2 separate regions of the Homo sapiens genome follow, and region 2 is linked to region 1. The links are contacts of gene promoters, found by promoter capture Hi-C in blood cells and fetal thymus (Javierre and others, 2016). All regions are on one chromosome and are shown on one strand. Each heading gives the region's core, a stretch centred on a gene start or on the middle of the fragment in contact. The rest is flanking DNA. Distances are from core to core; before and after follow the strand shown. Region 1 holds the start of XRCC5 (X-ray repair cross complementing 5). Region 2 overlaps SMARCAL1 (SNF2 related chromatin remodeling annealing helicase 1).

Evidence for each region. Contacts are between HindIII fragments. The CHiCAGO score rates a contact against its expected background, and 5 or more counts as called.
Region 2: a fragment that was not itself captured here is called in contact with the fragment with the promoter of XRCC5 in region 1 in 7 of 17 cell types (activated CD4 T cells, total CD4 T cells, neutrophils and 4 more); the score reaches 7.6 in activated CD4 T cells.

Annotation. Positions count from the first base shown.
Region 1 is chr2:216,105,045-216,111,912 of GRCh38, forward strand. It overlaps XRCC5 (X-ray repair cross complementing 5), which reads left to right and starts at 4,304. Exons shown (of 21, transcript NM_021141.4): 1 at 4,304-4,413. The coding sequence starts at 4,393. RefSeq lists an enhancer at 4,028-4,649. The HindIII fragment of the contact is 16,954 bases long and covers 1-6,868 here.
Region 2 is chr2:216,477,567-216,484,434 of GRCh38, forward strand. SMARCAL1 (SNF2 related chromatin remodeling annealing helicase 1) reads left to right here. Exons shown (of 18, transcript NM_014140.4): 17 at 637-733; 18 at 5,172-5,487. The coding sequence ends at 5,411. RPL37A-DT (RPL37A divergent transcript) reads right to left here. Exons shown (of 4, transcript NR_183317.1): 4 at 5,891-6,370. Among named protein-coding and RNA genes, the nearest start is that of RPL37A-DT, 18 kb to the right of the region's middle. The HindIII fragment of the contact is 613 bases long and covers 1,514-2,126 here.

The DNA of each region.
Region 1 (6,868 bases), core at 3,054-5,553:
CTGATCACCTCCCAAAGGCCTCATCTCCAAATATCATCACATTGGGGGTTAGAATCTCAACATATGAATTTTGGGGAGACACACTCAGTCCATAATAGGGCTCCTTCATGTGGCTATGTTGGGCTTTCACAGCATGGCAGTCTTCATACATGGTATCTGGGTTCACCAGGGTGCAAAAGACAAATCTGCCAGGTATTCTAAAGGCTTCAGCCCAGAACTACCTACTGTTCTGTAAATGCCTACACATTTTACTGGTTATAGCAGGTCATGAGGCCTGTCCAGATTCACGGGGAAGGAACTACATAAGGGTGTGAATGCTGAGAGGCATGGCTCACACGCATCACCAAAATGACATTTTGCCATTCCCCCTTTCCTATCCCATTTATTTCCCTCATATGCCACAGTGGCTTTTACACATTTCTCTCTAACTCCCCCTTCTGTCCCCCAACACACATACCATCACCACCACTAGTCATAGCCCATCAACCTCCTGTCCCCCTTTATTCCCAATTCTGTATCATTTAAATCCAAAAGGACCTTGCACTGACAGAAACAGAACGAACAAAGCCAGAATCCTTTTGTTGTGGAGGAGGAAGGGAGTAGCCATATATGCTGTCACATCATTAATAATGTTTATCCCTTGACCCTTGATTAATGAAGGCCCTTTGCCAGGGGAAGCAATGCTTAAAGTCCATATCCCTTTTCAGCGTCACAGATGCCTAGCTGCACAGAGGTGGCTGGTTCTAAAGACTTCTATAAAAACAGCTGAGATGCAAACAAGCACAGCTACTAGAACCTCTTTTATTTCTTCCAAGAAACAGACCTGTACTGAAGGGTGTATGGAAGACAGAGAGTGGGGACAGGGAGAAGGAGAAGAAGGGGGAGGAGGAGGAGCAGGAGGAAGAGGAAGGGGAAAAGCAAGAGGGAGGGAGGGAAGGAGGAAGGGAGAGAGAGAGAGAAAGGAAGAGGAAAAATAGAGACCATATACAAGATAAAAACATGGACATAAAGCATGCAAATTTCCTTCACTGTACTGAGTCTCCAGTAATTCTCTTTACCAGTCTTATTAAAAATATTTTTTAGGCTGAGCGCGGTGGATCACATCTGTAATCCCAGCACTTTGGGAGGCTGAGGTGGGCGGATCACCTGAGGTCAGGAGTTCGAGACCAGCCTGGCCAACATGGCAAAATCCCGTCTCTACTAAAAATACAAAAATTAGCCGGCACAGTGGTGGGTGCCTATAATCCCAGCTACTTGGTAGGCTGACGCAGGAAAATCGCTTGAGCCTGGTGGCGGGTGGGAGCGGCGGAGGTTTGTAGTGAGCCGAGATCGTGCCACTGCACTCCAGCCTGGGCGCAGAGTGAGACTGTTCTCAAAAAAAAAGAGGGTATCAGGGTACATTATCTCCACATGCTGATAAGTTGTTACATAAGTCCCACCAATTCACAATTTAATATCATATACTCTACCCACTCAAATTTTCAGTCTTTCAAAGCACATTAACAAAGTTATCAGGAAAATGGGACTAGCACAACCAAAGATGTTACAGACTGCACACAATTTTGACACGGATAGCAACGTGACCAAGGAGTGGTTTTCTTCAGGAAACAATTCTACTAAAAAAACCCATGAAAATAAAAGTAATTTAAAATTTTCAAGACACATTAAATGCATGACTGTGGCTCTATATTGCCATTTAGTATGCGCTGTACTGTAGGAAATAAAATACCCTCTCCCTAGGGAATGTTAAACTGACTTCGAAGACAGTGAAAGCCTCCCATTATTCACTATTTCAGTGTTTCCTGGTTGTACCAAACAACAAACAAGTGAATTATTTCACCTTTTAAAAGCTACACTTTAAAAATGGGATAAAGTGGGATTCCCTCCTTCCTAAAAATGTTTCAGCCAGGCACAGGCTCACGCCTGTAATCCCAGTACTTTGGGAGGTCAAGGTGGGCGGATTACCTGAGGTCGGGAGTTCGAGACCAGCCTGACCAAGATGGAGAAACCCCATCTCTACTAAAAATACAAAATTAGCTGGGTGTGGTGGCACATGCCTGTAATCCCAGCTACTTGGGAGGCTGAAGCAGGAGAATCGCTTGAACCCGGCAGGCGGAGGTTGCCGTAAGCAGAATTCGCGCCACTACACTCCAGCCTGGGCAACAAGAGGGAAACTCTGTCTCAAAAAAAAAAAAAAAAAAAAAAGTTTCTACAGCTACTAAAAAACTTGCATTTAAAAATAGTTGATAAAAATATTCCTTATCAAAATAGTTGATAAAAATATTCCTCTGAGGCCAAGTGCAGTTGCTCACACCTGTCATCCCAGCACTTTGGGAGGCTGAAGCGGGAGGATCGCTTGATCCCAGGAGTTCAAGACCAGGCTGGGCAACATAGGAAGACCCCGCCTCCACACACACACAGAAACCCCACAAAAATTAGCTGGGCTTGGTGGCACACACCTGTGGTCCCAGCTACCTGGGAGGCTGAGGTAAGTGAATCGCTTGAGCCCAGGGGTTCCAGGGTGCAGAGAGCTATGATTGTGCTACTGGACTCCAGCCTCGGCCGAGCGACACCCTGTCTGTTTCTTTCCTTTTCTCTCTCTCTCTAGCTCTGGATCGTACAAGAAGGGAGACAAGGACCACTGACAAGATATGGTATGTGATACTAATCAGATTTGGCTTCTTTCTGTCCTGCTTCACCAGAGGCTGGACTCTCCTTGTTTCAGTTTCTCCGCTTTCCACAGATAAATCTTTTGTTTCCCGGATAGCCACTTGGCCTGTTTGCCCTTTGCTCCCATTTTTCCTTGTTTGCTTCTTTGTCTGAAAATTTATGCTGTCCTGCTGCCTCCGCTGGGCTTCGTTTCCACCTTTGCTGGAGGAGATTTAGCTGACAACCTCACAGATCTTCCCCGCCCCTTCTGCCGAGCTGATCTTTCTCTTGGAAATCTTACCCGCAGGGAAGGGCGAGTGTCCGTGCCTGCCTGCCTGCCTGCTGCAGCCCGCGCAAAGCTGAGCGGCCAGGGCGCTGCTGTTCCTTTAAAGTATTATTAAAAATAATATTTCAGCTTTTAAGTAACTCCTTGAGTTTGAATCAAAAGCTGGAAGAACCTCCTGGGCTCTATGAGCACCTCTGAATATGTCTGACTCTACATTCTAGAGGCTTCAATGTATTTATAATTTTGGCTCATAGATTCTCCACATCTTTTCAGCTTCAATTCTTGCTTTTCCCAGAAACAATTTTCAAGCAGGAGAGAATATTGATTGGACTTGATTTTCTCAGTTTGGGCAGAGGTTTGCAGACACTTTGCAGGTTGCCAGACCCTTCGTCCAGCCACCTGTCAGCTGGGGGTCATATGGTATAGAAAGCAGTCATTTCTATGCAAGGTACTGCTTGGGCCTGCCTCCCTCAAAGGGGTAGGGGATGCGGGCTGGACAAAGGGCTCGTGATCAAGTAAAGCACTGTGATGACAGCTGCTATTTCTATATCTCCCTAGACTTGTCTTCTAAATTAAACCTTGACTCCTCCCTTCCAAGCTGGAGCCACTGCTAACTACTGGGAGAGCCTTAGCAGATAAAGTCTCATGCCTCCAGGCGTTTGTGCATCCCATTTTCTCTGCAGAGTAGAATCTCCCTTCTACTTTTGTGCTCCTGGGGACGTCCTACTCTTCTTCCCCAGTTGGCTCTAAGGTTATCACATCGGTGAAGTGTTTCATTATCACTTTTTAGAAGAAACTGAGTCTTTTAGAGAAGTTAAGTGACTTTCTGCATTCATACTCATACTCAAGAAAATCTAACTCCACAATAACCAAAAATAAAAAGTAGAAAAAAACCCACAAGTGATGAGAAAAAAAAAAATCAAAAGTTATAAAAAATAAATGAAAAAATGAAATTAAAGGAAAAAAGATTTTTTAAAAAAGTAAAAAAAAGAAAAGAAATCTAACTCCAGAGCTCTGACACAAAATGCCTTAGGTGTTATTCTCAATGAGAGAAAAGGGACGTGAATCTTTAAGTGATTAAGTGAATCTTTAAGTAAATCTGTCGTACTAGCGTTTCAGGCGGCTCAAACACCACACGCTCCCGACTACGGCGGAATGGAGAGAATGTGCGCATGCTCGGCGGGAATCTGCGCATGCTCGGCGGGAATCTGCGCATGCTCGGAGAGAATCTGCGCATGCTCGGCCGGAATCTGCGCGAGCTCGGCGGGAATCTGCGCAAGCTCGGCGGGAATCTGCGCATGCTCAGAGTTCCGGGGCACGGTTTCCCCGCCCCTTTCAGGCCTAGCAGGAAACGAAGCGGCTCTTTCCGCTATCTGCCGCTTGTCCACCGGAAGCGAGTTGCGACACGGCAGGTTCCCGCCCGGAAGAAGCGACCAAAGCGCCTGAGGACCGGCAACATGGTGCGGTCGGGGAATAAGGTATAAAGAAAGCCATGGACTTGGGCTTTACCCGGACTGGGGATCCGGAGAGGGTGGTTCGGAAGCAGGAATCGTGGGATCGCGGTCAAGACAAAGAATGGGGCAAGAGAAGATCATGGTGGTGGGCTCAGTCAGGAGGGCCGGGACCGAGGGATGCGCTATGAGAAAAGCTGGAGATTTGGGGCTCCAAGACCTGAATTTGAGCCTCGCTGACTCCACCTCTTCCATTACCCACCCATCCCATCCCTCTTCTCCCTCTCTACCTGCTCTTTGTCTCACCTGCCTCCCCACCCGCCTCCCCTCTCTCTCTCTTTATCCCATTCCACTCCCTAGCCCCACTTCCTCTATTACTTCCGAGCCTGGGTTCTTAAGATCTCTATGAGAATGAAAATTAGCTGTGATAAAGCAACTATCCCACAGGGCTTGTTGTAAAACTTAAGAGAGGGACTATCTGTGACTAAAATAACTTAAACTGTAAAGCGTCGTATTATTAGCTTTATAATAACGTAGTATCCCGCATTTATTGAAAGCCCACTCTGTGAGGGACGGATCTAAACCTTTTATTCTTATCTCATTTAATCTTCACAACCCCTTGAAGTGAAAACTATTTATCCCCATTTTGCAAGTGGGAAAACCGAGGAATAAAGAACTGTGGGCTTTTCCTGGTGAAATCCGGATTTGAATCCAAGCTGTCTGGTTTCAGGGCCCTGGAGAACCCCTGTGTTGCTAGAAATCTATGACCATTGGTGTCCCAGATCAGTAACAGAAATTACAATGAATTTTAAAGTGATTTTTTTTTTTCAACATAAAAGAGTGGTAGTTGTCTCTGAAGGGTCACTAGAGGGAGATGTGGTTCCAGGGATTAATGAATTTATTCAATACAGATAAACAAGATACGAGTTTGAGCAACTGATCCCTAGTTCCCTCAACTCCTCATTGAGAAATGTTGATTAAAACGATCATGAACTTTTAATAATGCCACTCACCTCCTTTTTTCGTCCTCTTTCAGCTGCTGAAAACTTTGTAGCTCTAGTGGAGGAGCTGTTTGTTGCAGATGAACTGGAAGTAAAATTCTAACAGCCTGTATTGCTTCGGTATAGAAATGAAGAGTTGCTATGCTACCCGGTTTCTCTTTCTCAGTTTTCTTACTGCTGCCAGATAGGAACTCAGAAATATAGACCATTCTGCTTCCAGACAATAAGTTCCATATTTGAAACCCTTTGATGGCACTTACTGGATACCTAATTCATGACAAAAGTGCTTTAGTCCTCTAGAGTTTTCTGGTTTAAAAGTAGCTTTTGTGGGTGTGTATCAAATAAGTGCAGCAGCATATTTTGTGACTCTTAAGTTTTTTTAGGTTATCATGCCCCAGGCATTGAAACTGGGATGTGCATTTTACTGTTCTCAAAGGAATTTTGTGGTTTATTAGCACGTTTTTTTTTTCAAATAATCTAATTTTACTTCAGAAATCTCTTAGTGCATTGTGTTGTTTGTAAACTAGTGAAAAATAATCTTTTCTTTTCATGTGTTGCCTGAGATATAACCACATTTAGAAATCATCTATAACTTCCCTGATAGGAATTCATTCAGGTTTTTAAAACATTTCTAGGGTCAAGAGATCACTTAAAAAAGAGTAGTTTCTTTATTGATCACTTCTAAATGTTATTTTTTATCCCTCGTATGGAGTCGCATCAGTCTCCCTGTAACTTCCATCTGTTGATCCCGTTGTCTTTCTTGGCAGACCAATCCTTTTATACAACAGTTGTCAAATATCTGGGGGGAGGCCAGACACGGTGGCCTATACCTGTAATCCTAGCACTTTGGGAGGCGGAGGTGGGAGGATTGCTTAAGCCAAGGAGTTTGAGACCAGCCTGGGCAACACAGTGAGACCCCAACTCTACAAAAAAAATTTAAGAATTAGCTGGGCATGGTGGGGTGCAACTGTGGTCCCAGCTATTTGGAAGGCTGAGGTAGCGGGATCACTTGAGCCCGGGAGATGGAGGCAGTAGTGAGCCATGATCATGCCACTGTACTCCAGCCTGGGTGACAGTGAGACCATGTCTCAAAAAAAAGGAAAAAAAAATGGTGGGGAGGAAAACTGTTATGTTCCCTTTAATCTTCTCATCTGACTTAAATATCTAGTTATTTCCAACTGTTCTTTACATCATGTATTCTTCAGATTCTTCCCTAAGCTGCTCATTTCATGTTCATTTGTAATTAATTTTCCTGGTAAGATGTTAGCCCAGAACTGCTCACAGTTTGTTTGATCGGTACAAAGCACTGCGAGACTATCAGTCAGAGTCAAGGAATGTGAACTCCAGAAAGGACCTTAAACCTCATCTAGTCCAACAGTTTCCTACCTTTTAGTATTATTAACAGTGAGATTAAGTGACATTCCCAAGGACTCAGAACTAATGGGTAGGAGAGATGGGACTAGATCCCAGGTCTCCCGATT
Region 2 (6,868 bases), core at 570-3,069, 370 kb after region 1:
GTCTTTTACCTTTTATGATGTGCATTTATCTGGTGGGCACATCTTACATTGCTGCTGCTGGACCACAGGGAGAAAGTGGCTTACCCTGGACTGTGTAGTGTACTTCGTTAGCAGAGCTGGAGTAAGATTTTCAACCCTAGGGTTTTCTGTCTGTTACCTAAGTGAAAAATCTCAAAAAGCTTCTTCCCCTTATCTCCCCCTTCCTGATACAAAATTTCTTGATTATCTCATTTGTTTCCACTGCTTGTCTCTGTTTCCAGCCTTATGACTAAGGAGTCTTCCCTTTGCAATGTGTGTGGGTCACTCCTACTTCCCCCTTTTTAGTGGATTTGTTAATTGGGCAGCTCATAATACCACCAGATTCAAAATTGTGTTGAAATGAGGCAGCATTTATTTCCTACACATCTTCCATTAGAAAGAATATTGAACCTGATGATATTCTTAGCCCTAAATTGGAGTTTTTACAAATGAGAGGGGGCAAATTTTTCAAGATGGGTGTTTGCACCTTGAGAGATGCAGAGATGTGAAACCGTAAACAAGCCGTTGTCCCATAAGAACAAGGAGGGTGGCCTCATTTTCATTAGTCTGGTGGTTCTGTGCAGGTTGTATTCACTGCAGCTCATTTCTCCCCAACAGGCCCCTGATTCAAGAGAAGATTAAAGTTCTGGCAGAAGCCGGGCTTTCTGAGACCAATTTTTCAGAAATGACAGAATCCACTGATTACCTCTACAAGGTAATGCCAGCACATGGCTCTTCACCCCTGGAGCAGAGGGAGGCATTAAGCTGTCTGCCAAGTCTTTGGGTCCTGAGTAGGAGGATGTGAATCACTCCTAGGGACCTCCCCCAGCCTAGAGCTGAAAACAATGGCCTGCAGTCATTCTCAGTTGAACCATGCATGCATCGCTTTATGGGGAAATGATGGCATTAGCTCCTACAGCTGCTGACATTCCCGCACAGGCTCTGAATGCTGCCTCTTCCAGCAGGCCATTAGAAACTGACAAAACTCCCCATGGCAAATGTTGAATTGTTTCAAAAAGTACACAGCAACACCACACATAGGGCTGCCACAGGAATGCATCCCCAGCACAGAATGGGGAGTGTTTAAAATAGGGTACTGGCTTCATAGAATATATTTTCCCTTCTGTCATTTTATTTATTCTCAGTGTCTCCCCACTTGATAGAGGGGTAAACTGAGACATGGCAGTATAGTAGGTTTGCACAAAGTCACAGGGCATGTGAAGCCAGCCCAAGGAAGAAGGCTTCCTGACTTGGCCCAGCATTCCTCCTTTGAGCTCAGCCCTTGTTGTAAAGGAGTATAAGAGGCATCCCTCCATGACCAGGCAGGCCTTGTCAAAGGTGCTGAGGGGGAAGGCTGTTGCCTCTGAACAGGACAGCCCTGGGCCCATCATGCCTGCCTGGTTTCAGTGCTGCAGCCCAGTGGCTGCCACAGACTCTTCCTCCCCCATTTCAGTGAAACACAGTGGAGTGAGCAAGAGACCCAGAGCCTTCCAAAAGCTTGTTTTCCTTCCCCAGCTTGGATTGTTGGCCAGAAGGTGAAAACCAGGAGTATGCCCTCCTCGAGCACAGCTCATGGTTGAATTGTTTCTGCCAGGAGAGTTTGAACCAGGTCTGAGCCTCATGCAGAAAGGGGCCTTACGGTAGCTTATCAGGAAAGTGAAGCACCTCCTCCTTCCTGTGAAATCACCATCAGAATATTGAGTTAGGCCACACATGGTGGTGCACACCTGTAGTCCCAGCTACTCCAGAGGAAAAGGTGAGGATCACTTGAGCCTAGGAGGTCAAGGCTGTAGTTAGCCATGATGGTCACTGTACTCTAAACTGGGCAACAGAGCAAGAGCCTGCCTCAAAAAAAAAAAAAGAGAAAGAAAAAAGTTTAAATAAATAAGAAGTTGAGTTAAATCTTATCGTTGACACCAAGACTTAAGACTCTGTGGATCTGCTCATTCACTTACATTTATTTAGCAAATAAATTCTTTCTTTGCAAGGATTTATTTGCTAAATATTGGGATAAATAAGACTCAGATCATATTTTTAAATGCAGACTGCAAATTATCCTTTCAGACATATATAGTTAATAAGCCAATTTTAAAACAACCTTATTTTTAAGCTTTTTAAAGAACTCTCCAGTTCAGCTGAATGGTAAATGGTAACAGAGCCTAGGTTATTACAAGCCTTTTGAAAAGAAATAGTCTGAGCAGGCATAGTGGCTCAAGCCTCTAATCCCACACTGAGGCGGACAGATGACTTGAGCCCAGGAGTTTGAGACCAGCCTGGGCAACATGGTGAAACCCCCATCTCTACAAAAAATACAAAAATTAGCCAGGCATGATGGCACATGCCTGTATTCCCAGCTACTCAGGAGACTGAGGCAGGAGGATTCCCTGAACCTGGGAGGCAGAGGTTGCAGTGGGCCAAGATCACACCACTGCATTTCAGCCTAGGCAACAGAGACAGACCTTGTCTCAAAAAAGAAAAAAAAGAAAGCCTATTTTTAAAGGATTCTCACTTGAACTCATTTATTCCTCCTTGCCTTTCTCTTACTCTAAATTGGTTAAGCATTTCTACCTAAAATATAAGTACAAGGTAATATAAATGAGTTTTATCAATATTTTGATCAATAACTATATCAATTTATTTTTTAATTAAGATGGGGCTGAAAATTTTATCAACTACTAGAAAAAGAAAATGTTGCTTCCAATATAGGAGACAAAAGCAGAAGAGGTTATATCTCACTGAGATAGCCTTCCTTCTGAGAGGGGAAATGAAATATTAATCTGATCTTGGAACTCGCTTCCAATTAATTATGCATGCCCCGAGTCAGCATACAGTGTTGCCATCATCATAATCAAATGCACATTAGCAGCTTTTTCTACTTGGAATAGGCTGCCTTGCAGGGTGGCGTTTCCTTGACATTGCAGTCATTCAGAAAGAGGCTGATGAGGGCATCCTGGAGGAGGACATGTGGGTTATTTGGGGGTCAGCCTTGATGATCTTTCATATCATTTCCCTCTCTGCAAGGCTGGGATCCTGAAAGGCTAGGAGATTTCGGGTGCAGGTTAATTGAATAATCTGGAGTTCTTACATGACAGGCTGTCATGATCAATTTTCAAGGAACTCTACTTCACCAATGTGGAGGGATTTGGTTAAGGAATAGTGAGGAACAGTGGCCAGGTACGTTGAGACCTAATTCTATAAAGGCCTGAAAAGCCAGGGGAGCAACTGTAGACTTGATGAGGTAGGGACAGCGGAGCCCAAAGACATGACCAAAAAAATCTTTAAAGGAGAGCCTGGGGGTAAAAATCAGCTGGCAAAGATCTGTAGGCTGTTTGAAATGGGAAGAAGCCTGAGGCAGGAAGCGCAGTTGAGCTGTTGCAAATCCATGCAGTACCAAGTGATGTGGCCCAAGTAAAGATGGTGCCTGAAGGAGAGAGGAGGGAACTAATGGGGGGAACAAACTTGCATAAGCCGAGGACTCTGTTTGCCTGGATGATTTCCACCTGGGAGACTACGAGAATGCAGGTAGACTATAAAAACTAGACTTATGGGAAGAGAAGCTGCTTTGAGAATATAGGAGATGAGAGATCATTTGATTTTTTATATTTATTTATTTATTTATTTATTTAGAGACAGGGTCTCACTCTGTCACCCAGGCTGGAGTACAGTGGCACTATGCTGGCTCACTGCAACCTCCGCCTCCCAGGCTCAAGTGATTCCCCCCATCTCAGCCTCCCGAGTAGCTGGAACTACAGGCGCATGCTGCCAACACCCGGCCAATTTTCTGTATTTTTGATAGAGATGGGGTTTTGCCATGTTGCCCAGGCTGGTCTCTAATTCCTGAGCTTAGATGATCCCCCCGCCTCGGCCTCCCAAAGTGCTGGGATTACAGGCGTGAGCCCTTGCAGCAGCCTTATTTTTATGTATTTATTTTTTTTTTGAGACAGAGTCTCACTCTGTCACCCAGGCTGGAGTGCAGTGGCGTGATGATGGCTCACTGCAACCTCTGCCTTGTGGGTTCAAGCGATTCTTGTGCCTCAGCCTCCCAAATAGCTGGGACTACAGGCACGCACCACCATGTCTGGCTAATTTTTTGTATTTTTAGTAGAGATGGGGTTTCACCACGTTGGCCAGGCTGGTCTCGAACTCCTGACCTCAGGCGATCCATCCGCCTCGGCCTCCTAAAGTGCTGGGATTACAGGTGAGAGCCACTGAGCCCAGCCAAAAGATCATTTGATTTTAAACCAGTTTAGTTTTATGAAACTGTGGGATGTCAGTGGAGATATGGAAAATATACCTCTAAATTGAAAAATGGTCAAAGTTGGAAATTTAGATGTAGGAAAAATCGGCAGAGGGGTGATAGTGATCGTGTGTTGTGGTTGTATCCACTGGGCATGGTTTTAACACTACACCATTGTCATCAATGTATAGATGCAGTTGGTGGGTATTTTGATTATTTGTAATTTAAGGTAATCAGAATAGGTACACATATCTACTTATGAATATGTTAAATGTGTGTATGTTTTTTCAACTACTTTGAAAATTAGGTATAAGCCATGGCTGAACACAGAGATTTGGAAGTTGGGGGGCTGGGCACATGGTGGCTCACACCTGTAATCCCAACATTTTGGGTAGCTGAGGTGGGCAGATCATTTGAGCTCAGGAGTTCGAGACCAGCCTGGGCAACATTTAGTGAGATCCCATCTCTTAAAAAATTATAAAAATAAAAATAAATTTAAAAATAGAGATTTAGAAGTTGAATTATACCTTAACTGACCCTTAGTAGAGAAAGGCTTTGGAGGAAGTGAGATCTTGGGTGCTATTTCAGTATTGAAATAATGATTTGGAAAGTTCAAAGGGAGAAAACATTTCCAATGTAAATTATAGCGTGAGAGCAGCTTCTTTGTTGCACTCACAACCATTTCTTTTTCCTAACTCAATGAGCACAGAGAGGGTAAGATGTCAGACACTAAAACAGTGAGGCTGCTTTAGTGATGGTTTGCTGAGATGATGCACACTTGCCATCGTGTAGCTCCCTGACACCATGAAATGTGTGGTCTCTCATCTTTATATTCTCTCATCAGCCCTAGTGGAGGAGAGTCAGTGTTGGAGCCTGGGCTCTTCCTTTTATCTTTTGTTTTCTTTCTCTGATGAAGGACCCAAAGCAGCAGAAGATCTACGACCTATTCCAGAAGTCCTTTGAGAAAGAAGGAAGTGATATGGAGCTCCTGGAAGCAGCAGAGTCCTTTGACCCAGGAAGTGCTTCAGGAACATCTGGAAGTAGTTCCCAGAACATGGGAGACACCCTGGATGAAAGCTCATTGACAGCCAGTCCACAGAAGAAAAGGAGATTTGAATTTTTTGATAACTGGGACAGCTTTACGTCTCCCCTGTAAAAGGGGCAAAAAGAAAAAAATAAAAAGCATTTTAAAATCATGGAATTGAAATAAAATAATGTATTTTGTTTTAAAACTTTTTGAGCTTCTCTTGCCATTGCAGCAGTGCCTATGCCTGTGTCCAGGCTCAGCAGGAGACCAGGCCGAGCATCAGCTTTCCATTCCTGTGTCATTACGTGTGGGCTTGCTTGGGGTCTTAACCTCCGCTCTTCTGGCTTAGGGATGGACACAGCGAGTTGTAGTAGTGGGTAATTCATGTTCTCTAAAGAATGAGGTCCTTCCTACACAGTCCCCATAATCTAGAATTTTAAAATTTAGTGACTCAACAAATATTTATAGGGCACCTAATTTGTGCAGGCACTGTCCTAGGTGTTGGTAGTCATTCATCCAACAAAAGACAAAAGCGTGAGCCTTTGCCGAACTTACGCAGCGGGAGAGGCAATGGTTGTAGGTTCTCTTTTCCAATATAACTCTTCATGGACACTGAAATTTGAATTTTATTAATGTTCACGTATCACAAATTATTTTTTTTCTGCCATTTAAAAATGTGAAAACCATTCCTTGTTTACCAGCTGTACAGAAACAGACAGTGGGCTGGAAGTTGTCCACTGCCCATAGTTTGCCAATCCCTGGTTTAGAGCAGCGTGTTCCATTAGCAATGTAATGCAAGCTGCATATGTGATTGTAACTTTTCTAATAGAACATTTAGACTTAAGATTAATAATATAGGGAGGCTGAGGTGGGAGGATCACCCGAGGTCGGGAGTTCAGGACCAGCCTGACCAACATGGAAAAACCCCGTTTCTACTAAAATTACAAAATTAGTCTGGTATGGTGGTGCATGCCTGTAATCCCAGCTACTTGGGAGGCTGAGGCAGGAGAATCACTTGAACCCGGGAGGTGGAGGTTGTGGTGAGCCCAGATTGCGACATTGCACTCCAGCCAAGAGCGAAACTCCGTCTCAAAAAAAAAAAAGAAAAGATTAATAATGCATTTAACCCAATATATTAAATATATTATTTCAATTTACAAACAATATTTAAAAATTATTAATGGGAAATTTTAGATTCTTGGACTGGGCACAGTGGCTCATGCCTGTAATCCCAGCACTTTGAGAGGCCAAGGTGAGTGGATCACTTGAGGTAAGGAGTTCGAGAGCAGCCTGACCAACATGGAGAAACCCCATTTCTACTAAAAATACAAAAATTAGCCAGGTGTGGTGGCACATGCCTATAATCCCAGTTACTCAGGAGGCTGAGGCATAAGAATCACTTGAACCTAGGAGGCGGAGGTTGCAGTGAGCCAAGATCGTGCCACTGCAATCCAGCCTGGGCAACAGAGGAAGATTGTCTCAAAAAAACAGAAAAGAAATTTTACATTCTCTTTTCTGAACTAAGTCTGAAACAATGTATTTGATACAGGCAGCATCTCAATTTGGACTAGCCACAGGTTTCACCT